3 separate regions of the Homo sapiens genome follow, and regions 2 and 3 are each linked to region 1. The links are contacts of gene promoters, found by promoter capture Hi-C in blood cells and fetal thymus (Javierre and others, 2016). All regions are on one chromosome and are shown on one strand. Each heading gives the region's core, a stretch centred on a gene start or on the middle of the fragment in contact. The rest is flanking DNA. Distances are from core to core; before and after follow the strand shown. Region 1 holds the start of SOWAHA (sosondowah ankyrin repeat domain family member A). Region 2 overlaps RAD50 (RAD50 double strand break repair protein). Region 3 overlaps RAD50 (RAD50 double strand break repair protein).

Region 1 (4,710 bases), core at 1,110-3,609:
CATCTTTCAACATTTAAAGAGACCCTTGCTCTAGCTCTGTCTTGGGATTGTGTAGCTGCAGAGGCATCAGGTGAAGGCTTTCAGGGGCCAGACCAGCTGCTGCCCCTTAACCTTTGACCCTGGATTTCAAGTTCCCTCTAGAGTTCAGGCCTGTCTCCTGGAGTTCTTTATAGGAAGCTCTCACTGATTTCTCAAATCCCATCTCTGGAGATGGGTCATGCTTCAGAAAGAAGCTGGAGGTGCAGGCCCATCTGGGTAAAACAGGCTGCCCTGGACAAAGCTGGAAACAGAATGAGGCTCCAGGCGTTGATTGGGCTGCAGTCTTGGGCGGGTTTGGACTGCGACGAGCAGGCCACGATAGATCAACCAGGTGGTAGCCCCAGGGACCTTCAGGTTGTTGGAGGCAAACTGGGCACTAGACCAGCTAAAGGCCCCGGAGTAGGTCGACGAGAGATTTCTGAGAAGGCTGGCAGACCACCGCGGATCTTTGTCTTTTTACGTGGAGCCATGGGCGAGGCGCTCAAGAACTTGCTGAAGGAGCTCGACTTCTTCAAGCCTCGGGCCAGGTCCTGGAGCATGAGGTCGTCAGCCAGGACGCCCAGAAATGCACTGGTGGTGGAACTGAGGATGGTGGCGGCCACCTGTACGGGGCGCCTGGCAGCAAGACTGCCACTTCCACCACCGGTCGCATCTGGCTCCGTGGTGCCTCGCAGGCCTGGATCGCCAAGAAGGCGGCGCAGCGCGTACGAGGAGCCGGGCCGCAGGTACTGGTAGGCGCGACGCCCGCTGTGATCACGCACGTGCACCTGGGCACCCAGACGCACCACCAGCAGCACGGCAGCGTCCTCGTGGCCGTGCAGTGCAGCCAGGTGCAGCGGCGTGTAGCCGCCGTGGGAGCGTGCGTTCACGTCGACTGGTGCGCCACTGCGCCGCGCGACCTCCACCAGCTGCAGCGCCATCTCGCCGTCGCCGCTCTTGGCGGCCCAATGCAGGGCCGTGAAGCCAGACATGAAGTCGCGCTTGGCCGCCAAGCCGCGGTCGCGCAGCAGCAGCCCGTGCAGCTGGTGGGTCCAGCGGCCCCCGGCAGTCCGCACGAGCCACTCGTGCTCGGACGGCTCCAGGGGCACCGCGGACGGCGGCGGCGCGGCGGGCAACTCCTCGGCGTCAGGGCTCAGCAGACGCGGGCCGGCGCGCGACAGGCGCCTCAGGTGCGGGGAGCGGCCCGGGCCCAGGCCGAGGCCCAGACCGGACTCTTCCACCGAGAGCCGCCTCAGCAGCAGAGGGGAGCTCCGCGGGCTCGGCTCCTCCGACAGCTGCCGGCGCAGGCCGGGCTCCTCCGCCCGGAGGCGGAGCGTGGCGGGGGCCGGGACGCAGCGCACCGGCAGCATACAGGGCTTCTGCTGCGGCGGCCCTTTCGCTGCCCCGGGCCCGGGCTCCGCGTCTGGCGGATCAGAGCAGGGCGATGCCGCCTCAGAAGGGGCCCTAGGCGGTGGGGCCGCGTCTGCGGAGGGTCTCTCGGTGGCCTGGGCTAGCTCAAGGGCTGGAAGCGGTGGGTCGGCGGACCGCTCCCCGGGCGGCTGAGCGGGCTCGGAGGCCGGCCCCCCCGGGGTGTCCTGTGGCTCTGTTGGCAGACCCAGGTCCCCTGGCGGCTCCACTGGCCGCGGCACCCGGACCAAGGGCGGAGCTCCCGGGGCAGAGGCGCTCCGCGGCAAGACCGTCGAAGTGGGTTTCGACGGCTGGGCCGCTGCCCCCGGGGGGCCGAAGGGTGCGGGCTCGGGCTCCGGGGGCCGGGGCTTCTTCCTCAGCACCACGAACTTGACGCCGTCGAGCTCCTTCACCACCGCCACGTTGTTGACGAACTGCTTGAAGCGGTCCCTGCGGGCGGCGCGGCCCCGCGGGTCGCCGGCATCGAGCAGCGGCTTGAAGCGGCTCAGCAGCTCGGAGTTGCGCACCTTCCCGCCGTGCTCCTGCAGGAAGCCCAGCACCGCCGCCTGGCTCACCCCGGCAGCCGCAGCGGCGGCGGCGGCGGCCAGCGCCATGGTGGGGCCCTGGGTTCCTGGCTCCCGGGGCGGGTGGGCGCCGCGTCGCCGCGGGACGCGCGGGAGCGGGGTTCCGGGAGGCGCGGCCGCGCTCACCTGGTGCCTTCCCCGCGGCCAGCCGGGCGTGTCCCCGAAGCTGGACCTCGGTCGCGCCAGTGCCGCTGGGCCGGGGCGTCTCGGGGCGAAGGGCGCCGGGGGCCGCGGGGAGCGCCCACCCCCAGCGCCCCGCCGGGCCCCGGCCTTCGGGGTAGGTTTCTGCCTTTGTATTCTGTCCAATGGGCGCCTGCTTCCATCCCCCGCGCCGCGCTCGCCTTACAGGTGACAGCTGCCCCCGCGATGCAGAGGGAACCGGAGCAGAAATTCCCGCCGCCCCCCGCCCGCCCCAGAATTAAAGGCGCAGCGCTCCAGCTCTGGTCTCGGTTGCTAGGTGGGTGTGTTCCCTAGGGACGCCGCGGTCCGCCAAGGAGGAATGGATTTTTATTCCTTTAATAAACATTTAACCACTGCAAAACACCAAGCGATGATTTCAGAACAATCTTTTTTTTTTAAAGGTCGTCAATACCACTCCAGTTTTTTTTTTTTTTTACTGTGTTTCATGCAGGAAAACGGCTTCATGAGATTTACAGCAAAACCAATTCACTCTGCGCGGCAATGCACGTTACTCTAGGTTTAGAGAGACGTTTTCAAAAGCAATTTTCTCATGGTAAGAGAATACATTTTCACGTAGAATTTGGGGTATAAAACCACAGGAAACATAAACATAACAGGAAAACATAGAGGAAAACATAAAGAAGGAAAAAAAATCACTTGAAATCACCATTAACATTTTGAAATATCCTCTCCCTGTCTCCCATGTGTGTATGTATGTTTATGCTTTAAAGTAAGAAAGCAATGCGGAGTCATGCCATGGTTTTAAACCTTCGTTTGTTCCACAGATAGGTATTGAGCACGTAGTTTGTGCCAGGACTTTTTTTTTTTTTTTTTTGGCTAAGATGCGTCAGTTAGCAAGACAGATTTAAAAACCCGTGACCTAGTGGGGCTCATGTGTTGGAGGAGAACAGAAGCATATGGTGAATCCGAAAACTATATGATATACTAAATACATGCTATGAAAAAAGCACAGCGGGGTATAACGGATGAGGGTCAGGTTGCAATTTTGATCTGGGCAGTCAGGATAGTACTCGTTGTGAAAGTGACATTTAAACAAGGACTTGAAGGAGATCAGGGAGTTATGTAGACGGGGAAGAGGTTTCTAGTTGAGGGAACTGCCTGGCAGAGGTAGAATCAGTTCCTTAATTTAAAATGCAGGCCGGGCGCGATGGCTCACGCCTCTAATCCCAGCACTTTGGGAGGCTGACTTGGGCGGATGATCTGAGGTCAGGAGTTCGAGACCAGCCTGGCCATCATGGTGAAATCCATCTCTACTTAAAAATACAAAAATTAGCTGGGTGTGATGGCACGCACCTGTAATCCCAGCTACTCCGGAGGCTGAGGCAGGTGAATCGCTTGAACCCGGGAGGTGGAGGTTGCAGTGAGCTGAGATGGCGCCACTGCACTCCAGCCTGGATGACAAGAGCAAGCCCTGTCTCATAAATAAATAAATAATTGCAGTACTACAAATATATCTAACCAGAAGCAGCATATTGTAGTAGCTGAGAAAACAAGACTCTGGAGTCAACATTCTACACTTGAGTTCTGGCTCTACCTTGGGCAAATGCCTTGACTTCTCTGTGCCTCAGCTTTCTTGTCTGTAAAGGAATGAGGAAAATAGTACTTACCTGCTCAGATGGTTGAGAGAATTAAGTGAGAAAATAAACACAAAAGACTTAGCATAATGCTTGGCTTACAGTAATCATTTGAATTATTATTAGTAGTATAGTCACTACTATTAGTATTACTCAAAAGGAAAACAGAAGACTAAAATGTAAAGGGTCCCCTTTCCCCAATCCAATCCCCAGGGGCAATTTCTGAGTTCAGCCCTGTCCCCAAGATGCAAACAATTTAAACATTTCCCCCTCACTTTATATTGTGAGCATTCCTCCCAATGACAATAGCTAGTCTAGTCTTCAAAAACATACAACTTTTAATGATAGCATCAAATAAATGTAGTATTATACTTTGTTTTCTTGTTCTTCATTGTTTATATTGTTTCTAGTTTTTAATTCTTATAAATGATGCTGTTGATATATAAGACTTTGTGCACCTTTCTGAGTAATTCCTTAGGATAGGCTCCTAGGAGTAGAATTCGCAGGGCACGCACCATCACACGCAACAGCATCACACCCAGCTAATTTTATTTTTATATTGCCCAAGCTTGTCTCAAACCCTTGGCCTCAAGCGAGCCTTCCACCTCAGCCTCCAAAGATTACACGTGTGAGCCACTGCATCTAGCCTTACCCCAGCGCCCCCCCTTTTTCTTTTGAGATGGAGTTTTGCTTTTGTTGCCCAAGCTGGAGTGCAATGGCGCAATCTTGGCTCACTGCAAGCTCCGCCTCCCGGGTTCAAGTAATTCTCTTGCCTCAGCCTCCCAAGTAGCTGGGATTACAGGCATGTGCCACCATGCCTGGCTAATTTTTTATTTTTAGTAGAGATGGAGTTTCACCATGTTGGCCAGGCTGGTGTCGAACTCCTGACCTCAGGTGATCCACTCACCTCAGCCTCCCAAAGTGCT
Region 2 (4,710 bases), core at 837-3,336, 240 kb after region 1:
AATGATAAGAAAGTGAAACAGCCTTACTGCTGATATGGAGAAAGTTTTAGTAGTTGGGATAGATTAAACCAGCCACAACATTCCCTCAGGCCAAAACCTAATCCAGAGCAAAGCCCCAACTCTCTGCAATTCTATGAAGGCTGAGAGAAGTAAAGAAGCTGCAAAGAAAAGTTGGAAGCTAGCAATGGTTGGTTCATGAGGCTTAAAGAAAGAAGCTGTCTCCACAACATAAAAGTGCGAGGTGAAGCAGCAAGTGCTGATGCAGGAGCTGCAGCAAGTTATCCAGAAGATCTAGCTCAGGTAATTGATGAAGGTAGCTACACTAAACAACAGATTTTCAATGTAGACAAGACCGCCATCCATTAGAACTTAACCTGCAATATCTAAGGTATGCCTATAGTAATTTTCTAGTTCCATTATTCCTTTTATATTAGTTAAGGTTCTAGTATAAGGGGCTTTGCTCTTTCTCCATTTCCCCCCCCATTTTCTTGTATCAGTATAAACTCATAGATTCCTTACTTGGGCTCCAATCCCCCACCAGGCTGTCACAGCTTGTTTTTGTGGATGCCTTCCTCACTCAGCCACACCTAACGGATTTTGGACTGAATTATTCAGGAATTAATATTCCTCCATCAGTTATGCTGAGGGTTTTTACCACGAAAGACTATTAAATTGAAATGCGTTTTCTGTATCTATTGGTGTTCATATGATATTTCTTTTTTATTCTGTTAATGTGGCAAATTATACTGATTGGTTTCTTTTCTACCGTATCTCTCTAAGCATTATCTAGCTGCACCCCACATATTTTTACATGCTATATTTTTGATTCATTTAAAGTATTTTTTCTAATTTCCCTTGTGATTCCTTTTTTGATCCATGTAATATTTAGAAGTATGCTGCTTAATTTTTCAATTATTTGGGGATTTTCCGGATACTTTTCTGCTACTGATTCTGGTGTAGTCACAGAATACATTATCTATGACTTTACTCCTTATAAATTTATTGACACTTGTTTTACAGTCCAGAATGTTGGTCTATCTTACAGAATGTTCCACATGCACTTGAAAATAAAGTGTATTCTGCTATCGTTCAATGGAATGTCCTATAAATGTCAATCAGGTTGATTTGGTTAACAGTGTTGTTAAAATTTTCCATATACTTACTGATATTTCATCTGCTTCTTTTCTCTACTGAGAGGGGTATTGAGATCTCCAATTGACCTTGCAGATTTGTGTATTTCTCCATTCTGTTCCATAGGTTTCTGCCTCATATATTTGGAAGTTTTACATTTAGAATTTTTGTGTCCTTGCATTAAATTGACCTCTTCTCATCATAAAATGTTTCATTTTCCCTAGTTCTGATGTCTTCTGTCTGGTATTAATATGGTCACTTCAGCTTTCTTTTCATTAGCTGGCACAGTATATTTTTTCAATCCTTTTGCTTTTAACCTATTTGTACCATTATATACAAAACACCATTATTCCGTTTATTTGGGTTTTTAAAATTATTTTCCATTTTTCTCATTATGCTTATGTTTTCCTTTATATCTATGAGCATATTTATAAGAGTTATAATAAGGTTTTAGGGTTCTTATCTACTAATTCTATTATTTCTTTCATTTTGGATCTGTTCATATGATTGATTTTTCTCTGATTATGGGTCCTATTTCCCTGCTTCTTTGGATGCCTGTTAACTTTTGATTGTGAATTTTGTATTGTTGGGTGAAAGATTTTGTTTTATTCCTTTAATGAGTACTGAACTTTGTTCTGGCATGCAGTTAAGTTTTTTGAGCAACAAACAGTTGGATTCTTTTGAACCTTTGTTGTTAAGGTCTGTAAAGGGGGACCTAGAGCAGCTTTTACTCTAGGACTAATTTACAATCATTTTCGACATTTTCCTTCAGCCTCAAAAACTTTCTTTAACAATTACTATAGTGCAAGCCTGTCTGTAACAAATTACCTCTACCATTTTGTTTTAAATCTGAAAATGTCCTCCATTTCACCTCCAATTTTCAAAGAATATTTTTGCTGGATATAGGAGTTTAACTTTTATTCCCTAGCACCTTAAAGGTGCTGTCCCACTGTTTTCAGGTTTAGATTGCTTTTCCTAAGAAGTAATCATACTCATTATTCTTTCCCTCTGCATGATGTGTTACTTTTTCCTCCACCTGTTTTTAAGATTTTATATTTAGTTTTGAACAATTTGAATGTAATGTACAACATAGTTATGTTTATGCTGCTTGTGATGCATTCAGCTTCTTGGGTCTTTTTTTATAGTTTTTATTACTCTGTTTAGATGTCTTCCCACACATTATGTCCATCTTTTCCTTTAAGTCCTTGAGCTTATCTATCATAGCTTTAAAAAAATCCGGTCGGGCGTCGTGGCTCATGCCTGCAATCCCAGCACTTTGGGAGGCCGAGGCAGGCGGATCACAAGGTCATGAGTTCGAGACCAGGTTGGCTAATATGGTGAAACCCCGTCTCTACTAAAAATAAAAAATAAAAAAATAAAAAATCAGCCGGGCATGGTCGTGGGCACCTGTAGTTCCAGCTACTCGGGAGGCTGAGGCAGGAAAATTGCCTGAACCTGGGAGGCACAGGTTGCAGTGAGCCGAGATTGTGCCACTGCACTCCAGCCTGGGAAACAGAGTGAGACTCCATCTCAAAAAAAAAAATTTAAAAAAAATTTAAAAAAAAATCCTTGTCTGCTAATTCCAAAATCTGTCATCTCTGGATCTGCTTCTACTCACTTTTCCCTTCTCAGGTATAGACCACATTTTCTTTTGCATATTCCCATTAATTTTTAAAATTATATTCTGCACATTGTAGATGCCACATTGAGAGCTTCGACTGAGTAGGCTTCCTTTAAAAAGTCTTGAGTTTTGTTCTAGCAGCCAGTTAATTTACTGGCAACTCAGCTTGATTCTATCAAAACCTGGTTTCAGTATTTGTTAGGTGGGCCTTTCTGAGGTCTCAAGTGAACACTGGAGAGTTCCACAAGGTCACTCCATTCTGGCACATCAGGACTCAAATGTCTCACAGCATTGTGTGACCTTTAGAATACAACACTCACAGCCCCACTTGCCACCTTGGTAGTTGTTCTCTACTAGCCCTCATTAAATCTCATCCTATACATGGATAGCTTAGTATTTGGCCAAAGACTCAAAAGATCCTTATGCAGATTTCTGGTACACCATCTCTGCACAACAACCCTACTTCAGTACTCTGCTCTACAATTTCCAGTCACTTTAGCAAATCCAAAATCCTATCTTTGTTTCATCTGCCTAGTGATGCCCAATTCTGCCCAGCTCTCTACTGGATTCCAATTCCATGTGCCAAAGTTTACAAAGTGTTCCCAGGTAGAAAGCTGGAATGAATGCAGAATCACCTTTTATGTTTCTCCTTTCTCAAAGAATATAGCCCTGCATTATCTGTGGTCCAATGCCTGAAAATAGTTGTTTCACATACTTTTCCAGTGTTACAGTTATTCATCTTGCGAGTATAAGTGTGATACTCATTATTTTGTTGCAACCCAAATCACAAGTACTGGATTCTGCTTTAAAAAAAAAAAATCATTAAAGATCCTTTGCTGACTTTTTAATGACTTCTTGGCATGAATTTAACTTTGATACTAATTCAATTAATCATTCAACAAATATTTACAGGCACTTTGTAGGTTTCATGTGTTGTTTTGGTTCAAACTGACAGACTTTTTTTCCTTTGAAGCATGCAAGATAGGTTAAATGTAGACAAGGTGTGCTAAACACCATCATAAGCACAGGATAATCTGGGAGTACAAAGCAGGAGCATCTAACCTATCTAGGACAGCTCAGGGAAGGTAGTCTAAAGGAAGTGAATGTTTAAATGAAACTTCTACCAATCTGGGTAGAAGTTAACCAGATGAGAAGATCTGAGTCACTACGTGACTACAGAAATTTCAGAATGTTTGGCATAGAAAGTAGGGAAAAGAAGAGTATCAACCTAAAATGTTTCAGAAATTAACAGCCTTCTAAACTTGGTAAGGCTTTTGGATTTAAGGTGATGGCACTAAATGGTTTGAACCAGGGGAATTGCATGAAGTAGATATGCATTTTAGAAGAATTATTTTGTCTTTAGGGTGAACAGAGTGAACTGAGACAAGACATGAAGCAGGGAATAATCGAGGAGAGATAGGAAGGCAGCCTGGACAAGGGTTGAGGATGGAGGTAAAGAGGAAGAAGTCGCTGAACTGGCTACTCAGAAACAGCCTCTTAGGATACAGACATTTCAATGAGGAGGTGGCCAGAGGTCAGTATAAAGCTTTGAAAGCCCAGACTTGACTCTGTCATTTCATCATAAGGAGAGCATTCTGCTGAAGGTTTAATCCACAGTAGTTGAACTAAGGAGCTATGTATTTATGCAGCAAAAAATTAATTTGTTTACAGTGTTCCTGAGTAGCAAGCCAAATACACATACTCTTTCTCCATGGCATCTACTTTTCGAGGACCTAGCTACCCGGCAAACATCAAATTAGTAAATAGAATTCAAGCAAGGGCTATCTTGTAGCATTTCTATCACTACATTGTTGTTGACACTCTTATTGAAGAAGAGTCACTTCAAAAGTGAAGTGTAATTTAGATTGAATTATTAAAACAAAGAAATGTGTATTATACTTCAGAACAATTTCTATCAAAAAGAATAAAATAAAAAATAAGAAAAACCCTTCTTTCTC
Region 3 (4,710 bases), core at 932-3,431, 230 kb after region 1:
TACTTTTATTATTATTATTTCAAATGCAGAGACAAGGTCTTGCTATGTTGCCCTGGCTGGAGTGGCTATTCACAGGTGCAATAACAGTGCAATACAACTTGAACTCCTGGGCTCAAGTGTTCCTCCCACCTCAGCCTCCAAGTAGCTGAGACTATAAGTATGTACCACCATGCCCAGCAGAACCTAATTTTAAACTAACATATGAAGTTATTGGAATGCTTAGACAGCAATTGCAAGCTTTCATAATTGCACCAAAATGCATCCTCGACTTTAACATAATTTATTAAAATTATACTAATAGTATAGCTTGTGATTTGTATATGAACGTAAACGTTCATATACAAATGAACCTAAAAACAGAAACTTTGTTTACTTTGTTCCCTAATGTATCCCCAGAACATGCAATAGGTGTTCAATGTTAGCTAAACGAAAGAGAGATTTGAAAAAAATAATTTTACCAAGAGCAACAGTCACAGGTATCACTGATTGAATGTCTGCTATGTTCCAGACACTGTACTAGGTGCTGCTATAAATTCTCTCTAATCCTCACAAAAGTATATACTAAGCAGGAAATTCAAAGGACTTAACTGACTTGTACAAAATTGTATAGTTAAGATTGGGAGACAAGATAACAATAAGATTAGAAGGCAGGGTATCATAATGACTAGGCTCTGGGTGCTAGAAGAAGTGGACATTTGTATGTAAGAAAGTAAACCTCAACTTTTACCTCATATCATATTAAGATTCTGAAATGAAGCATATACTTAATTGTAAGAACTCAAACTATAAAACTTTTAGAGGAAAACACTGAAGAATATTTTTGTGACACTGGGTCAAAGACTTCCTAAATAATAAACAAAAAGTATAAACCATAAGAGAAAAAAGTTTATAAACTGTACCTGATCAAAATTTAAAACTCCTGTCCTCTGAAAAGCAGTTAAGAAATATCTGCAAAACCAATATCTGATAAAGGGCTTGTATCCAGAACATATTTAGAACTCTCTGCCTGGCACTGTAGCTCACACCTGTAATCCCAGCACTTTGGGAGACTGAGGCAGGCTGATTGCTTGAGCCCAGAAGTTTGAGACCAGCCTGGGTAACCTGGTGAGACCTTGCCTCTACAAGTCTCACCGGTGTGGTGAGTGTGTGCCTGTAGTCCCAGCTACGTGGGAGACTGAGGTGGAAGGATCACTTGAGCCTGGGAGTCAGAGGTTGCAGTGAGCCAAGATCACACCACTGCACTCTGGCCTGGGTAAGACAGCGAGACCCTGTCTCAAAAAACAAGAAAAAAAAAAAAAAAAAAAAGAACTCTCACAGCTCAATAATAAAATGACCAATAAATAAATAACATTGAAAAATAGGCAAAAGACTTTTATATTTTACTAACGAAGATATTCAGGTGGCAAATAAATACATGAAAAGATGCTCAAAATCAATAATCAATTGACTGATCAACTAGGAAAACACAAATTAAAAATATAAAGAAATACAACCTCACAATGTCACAATGAGACACTACCACACCCCTACTGTTATGGCTAAAATGAAAAAGACTGACAGTACTAAGTGGGGATGAGAATGCAGAGCAATTACATTCCCATAAATTGTTGGTATATTGTTGGTAGGACTATGAAGTGGTACCAGATGGTACAGCCATCTGGTAACTTATAAGGTTAAACATATATTTACCACACGACCTAGCAACCCGAGTCCTAAAGTTATCCAAAGACCTGTATACAGAAGTTTATAGCAGTTTTATCTGTAACAACCCAAAGCCGAAAACAACTTATTTCTTTTTATTATACTTTAAGTTCGAGGGTACATGTGCACAACATGCAGGTTTGTTACATATGTATACATGTGCCATGTTGGTGTGCTGCACCCATTAACTCGTCATTTACATTAGGTGTATCTCCTAATGCTATCCCTCCTCCCTCCCCCCACCCCACAACAGGACCCAGTGTGTGATGTTCCCCTTCCTGTGTCTGTCCAAGTGTTCTCATTGTTCAATTCCCACCTATGAGTGAGAACATGCGGTGTTTGGTTTTTTGTTCTTGCGGTAGTTTGCTGAGAATGATGGTTTCCAGCTTCATCCATGTCCCTACAAAGGACATGAACTCATCATTTTTTATGGCTGCATAGTATTCCATGGTGTATATGTGCCATATTTTCTTAATCCAGTCTATCATCATTGGACATTTGGGTTGGTTCTAAGTCTTTGCTATTGTGAGTAGTGCTGCAATAAACATACATGTGCATGTGTCTTTATAGCAGCATGATTTATAATCCTTTGGGTATATACCCAGTAATGGGATGGCTGGGTCAAATGGTATTTCTATTTCTAGATCCTTGAGGAATCGCCACACTGACAAATGGGTTCTAATTAAACTAAAGAGCTTCTGCACAGCAAAAGAAACTACCATCAGAGTGAACAAGCAACCTACAGAATGGGAGAACATTTTTGCAATCAACTCATCTGACAAAGGGCTAATATCCAGAATCTACAAAGAACTCAAACAAATTTACAAGAAAAAAACAAACAACCCCATCAAAAAGTGGGTGAAGGATATGAACAGACACTTCTCAAAAGAAGAGATTTATGCAGACAACAGACACATGAAAAAATGCTCATCATCACTGGCCATCAGAGAAATGCAAATCAAAACCACAATGAGATATCATCTCACACCAGTTAGAATGGCGATCAATAAAAATCAGGAAACAACAGGTGCTGGAGAGGATGTGGAGAAAGAGGAACACTTTTACACTGTTGGAGGGACTGTAAACTAGTTCAACCAAAAACAACTTAATGTCCATCAGCCACAGAATGGATGAGGAAAAAAATTATAATACATGCATACAATGGAAGGAATGCTCCTCCACAATAAAAAGGAATGAATTGCCGGGCACAGTGGCTCACACCTGTAATCCCAGCACTTTGGGAGGCCGAGGTGGGCAGATCATCTGAGGTTGGGAGTTCGAGACCAGCCTGACCAACATGGAGAAACCCCGTCTCTACTAAAAATACAAAAAAAATTAGCTGGGTATGGTGGCACATGCCTGTAATCCCAGCTACTTGGGAGGCTGAGGTAGGAGAATTGCTTGAACCTGGGAGACGGAGGTTGCAGTGAGCCGAGATCATGCCATTGCACTCCAGCCTGGGCAATAAGAGTGAAACTCCGTCTCAAAAAAAAAAAAAAAAAAAAGGAATGAATTACTCACACATGCAGCAACATAGATAAATCCCAGACACAAAAGTCTGCATACTGTATGATTCTATATATGTGCCACTCTCTGGAAAAGGCAAAACTATAATGACAGAAAACAAATTAGTGGTTACTATGGATGGGAGCAGGGGAGAGGACTGACTGCAAGGACTTTGAGAGAACTTTTTGGAGTGACTGAAATATTCTACATCTTCATTTTAGTGATGGTTATGCTACTGTATGCATATGTCCTAACTCATAGAATTTATACTCTAAAAAGGGTGGATTTTACCATATATATATTATACCTTAATAAACTTGACTTAAAAAGAAAAAAAGGTATAAACTTAGGAATCAGAGGACTCAAATCCTACCTTTAACCCTTATTTCCACTGTGAATACCTGTACCTCAGTTTTCCTGCCTATACAACCTCACAGTTACTATGGAGTTTACATTATACATTTTAAAGCACTCGGGTTAGTGTTAGGCAGTAAACATTCAATTAATGAGACCATTTGCACCACTTGTGAAAAAAATTCTGTACTCAGAAAATACCTTTTGAGTAGAGTCTAACAAATATAACTGGATGGATACTTAAGAGCAATGAATACTAACAGCTCTACTATGATACTCTACAAAGTGCTCAGTTTCTTTCCATCAGTGTTTTCACTGCCTCTTGGTAGCACAAACATTATGATAATCATCTGGGCTTGGATCTTTCATGACATCTCTACCTGCTTCATTCCTTAAATCCAGCCAGTCACCAGATCCCCTGAATTCCTTCTTTGACATCTGTGTTTTGGTTCTAATCTCAGAGCACAAAACATAGGTTCTATCCCCAGAGTACACACCTAGTAAAAGGAGCTAGGACAAGCAGGCAGACAACAATAACAAAAACAGCCAAGGGTTTAAAGCTTAGGTGCCAGTGTGAAATGAGATAAAAAAAATAGAGCAGCTGGGCTATCAAGTATAGAAGGACCATGAACTTGTGTGCAGAAAAAAAAAGTTAGAAACATATTCCTCTAGCAATTCCCATTTAAGGCAAGAAAGGAAAACAGATCTAAGTAGGCCAAAAAAAGAGGACAGGATATGGTGGGATGGTAATAAAGTAGTTTATGAGAGAGTGAGAGTTCCCGAAGATAAAGGGAATCAGTAAAAATGGGAAAGGATGCATTCTAGTGCATGGTTGAAAGGACGTAGTCTTTTCTGGGAAGGTGATTTGACCCAAACTTTAATTGGGTTCTATGAAGGGAAGAATCTTCACATGTCAGAGCTAAAAAAAAGGACTTTGGAAGTCATCTACTTAATAAACATTTATTGAACCACCTGCTATGTGCCAGGCACTAGGCTAGGCTCTGAGGATACAGAGAAGAATATTAAACCCTTGGAGAATTACTCACAATTAAACACAAACAAGTAAATAAATACCTCAACCTCTGCTACAGCCTTGGTTAGAATCTTGGCACCACTCACTAAATCCTAGGTATTATCATTTAGCCCTAC

Evidence for each region. Contacts are between HindIII fragments. The CHiCAGO score rates a contact against its expected background, and 5 or more counts as called.
Region 2: a fragment that was not itself captured here is called in contact with the fragment with the promoter of SOWAHA in region 1 in 2 of 17 cell types (erythroblasts and endothelial precursors); the score reaches 7.4 in erythroblasts.
Region 3: a fragment that was not itself captured here is called in contact with the fragment with the promoter of SOWAHA in region 1 in 1 of 17 cell types (megakaryocytes); the score reaches 5.1 in megakaryocytes.

The regions. Positions count from the first base shown.
Region 1 is chr5:132,810,951-132,815,660 of GRCh38, reverse strand. SOWAHA (sosondowah ankyrin repeat domain family member A) reads right to left here and starts at 2,359. Exons shown (of 1, transcript NM_175873.6): 1 at 1-2,359. The coding sequence starts at 2,039. The coding sequence ends at 390. RefSeq lists enhancers at 214-714, 715-1,215 and a silencer at 1,255-1,324. The HindIII fragment of the contact is 6,134 bases long and covers 1-4,354 here.
Region 2 is chr5:132,566,042-132,570,751 of GRCh38, reverse strand. The region is part of intron 2 of RAD50 (RAD50 double strand break repair protein); the gene reads right to left. Among named protein-coding and RNA genes, the nearest start is that of RAD50, 11 kb to the right of the region's middle. The HindIII fragment of the contact is 4,429 bases long and covers 1-4,300 here.
Region 3 is chr5:132,582,187-132,586,896 of GRCh38, reverse strand. The region is part of intron 5 of RAD50 (RAD50 double strand break repair protein); the gene reads right to left. Among named protein-coding and RNA genes, the nearest start is that of RAD50, 28 kb to the right of the region's middle. The HindIII fragment of the contact is 3,884 bases long and covers 240-4,123 here.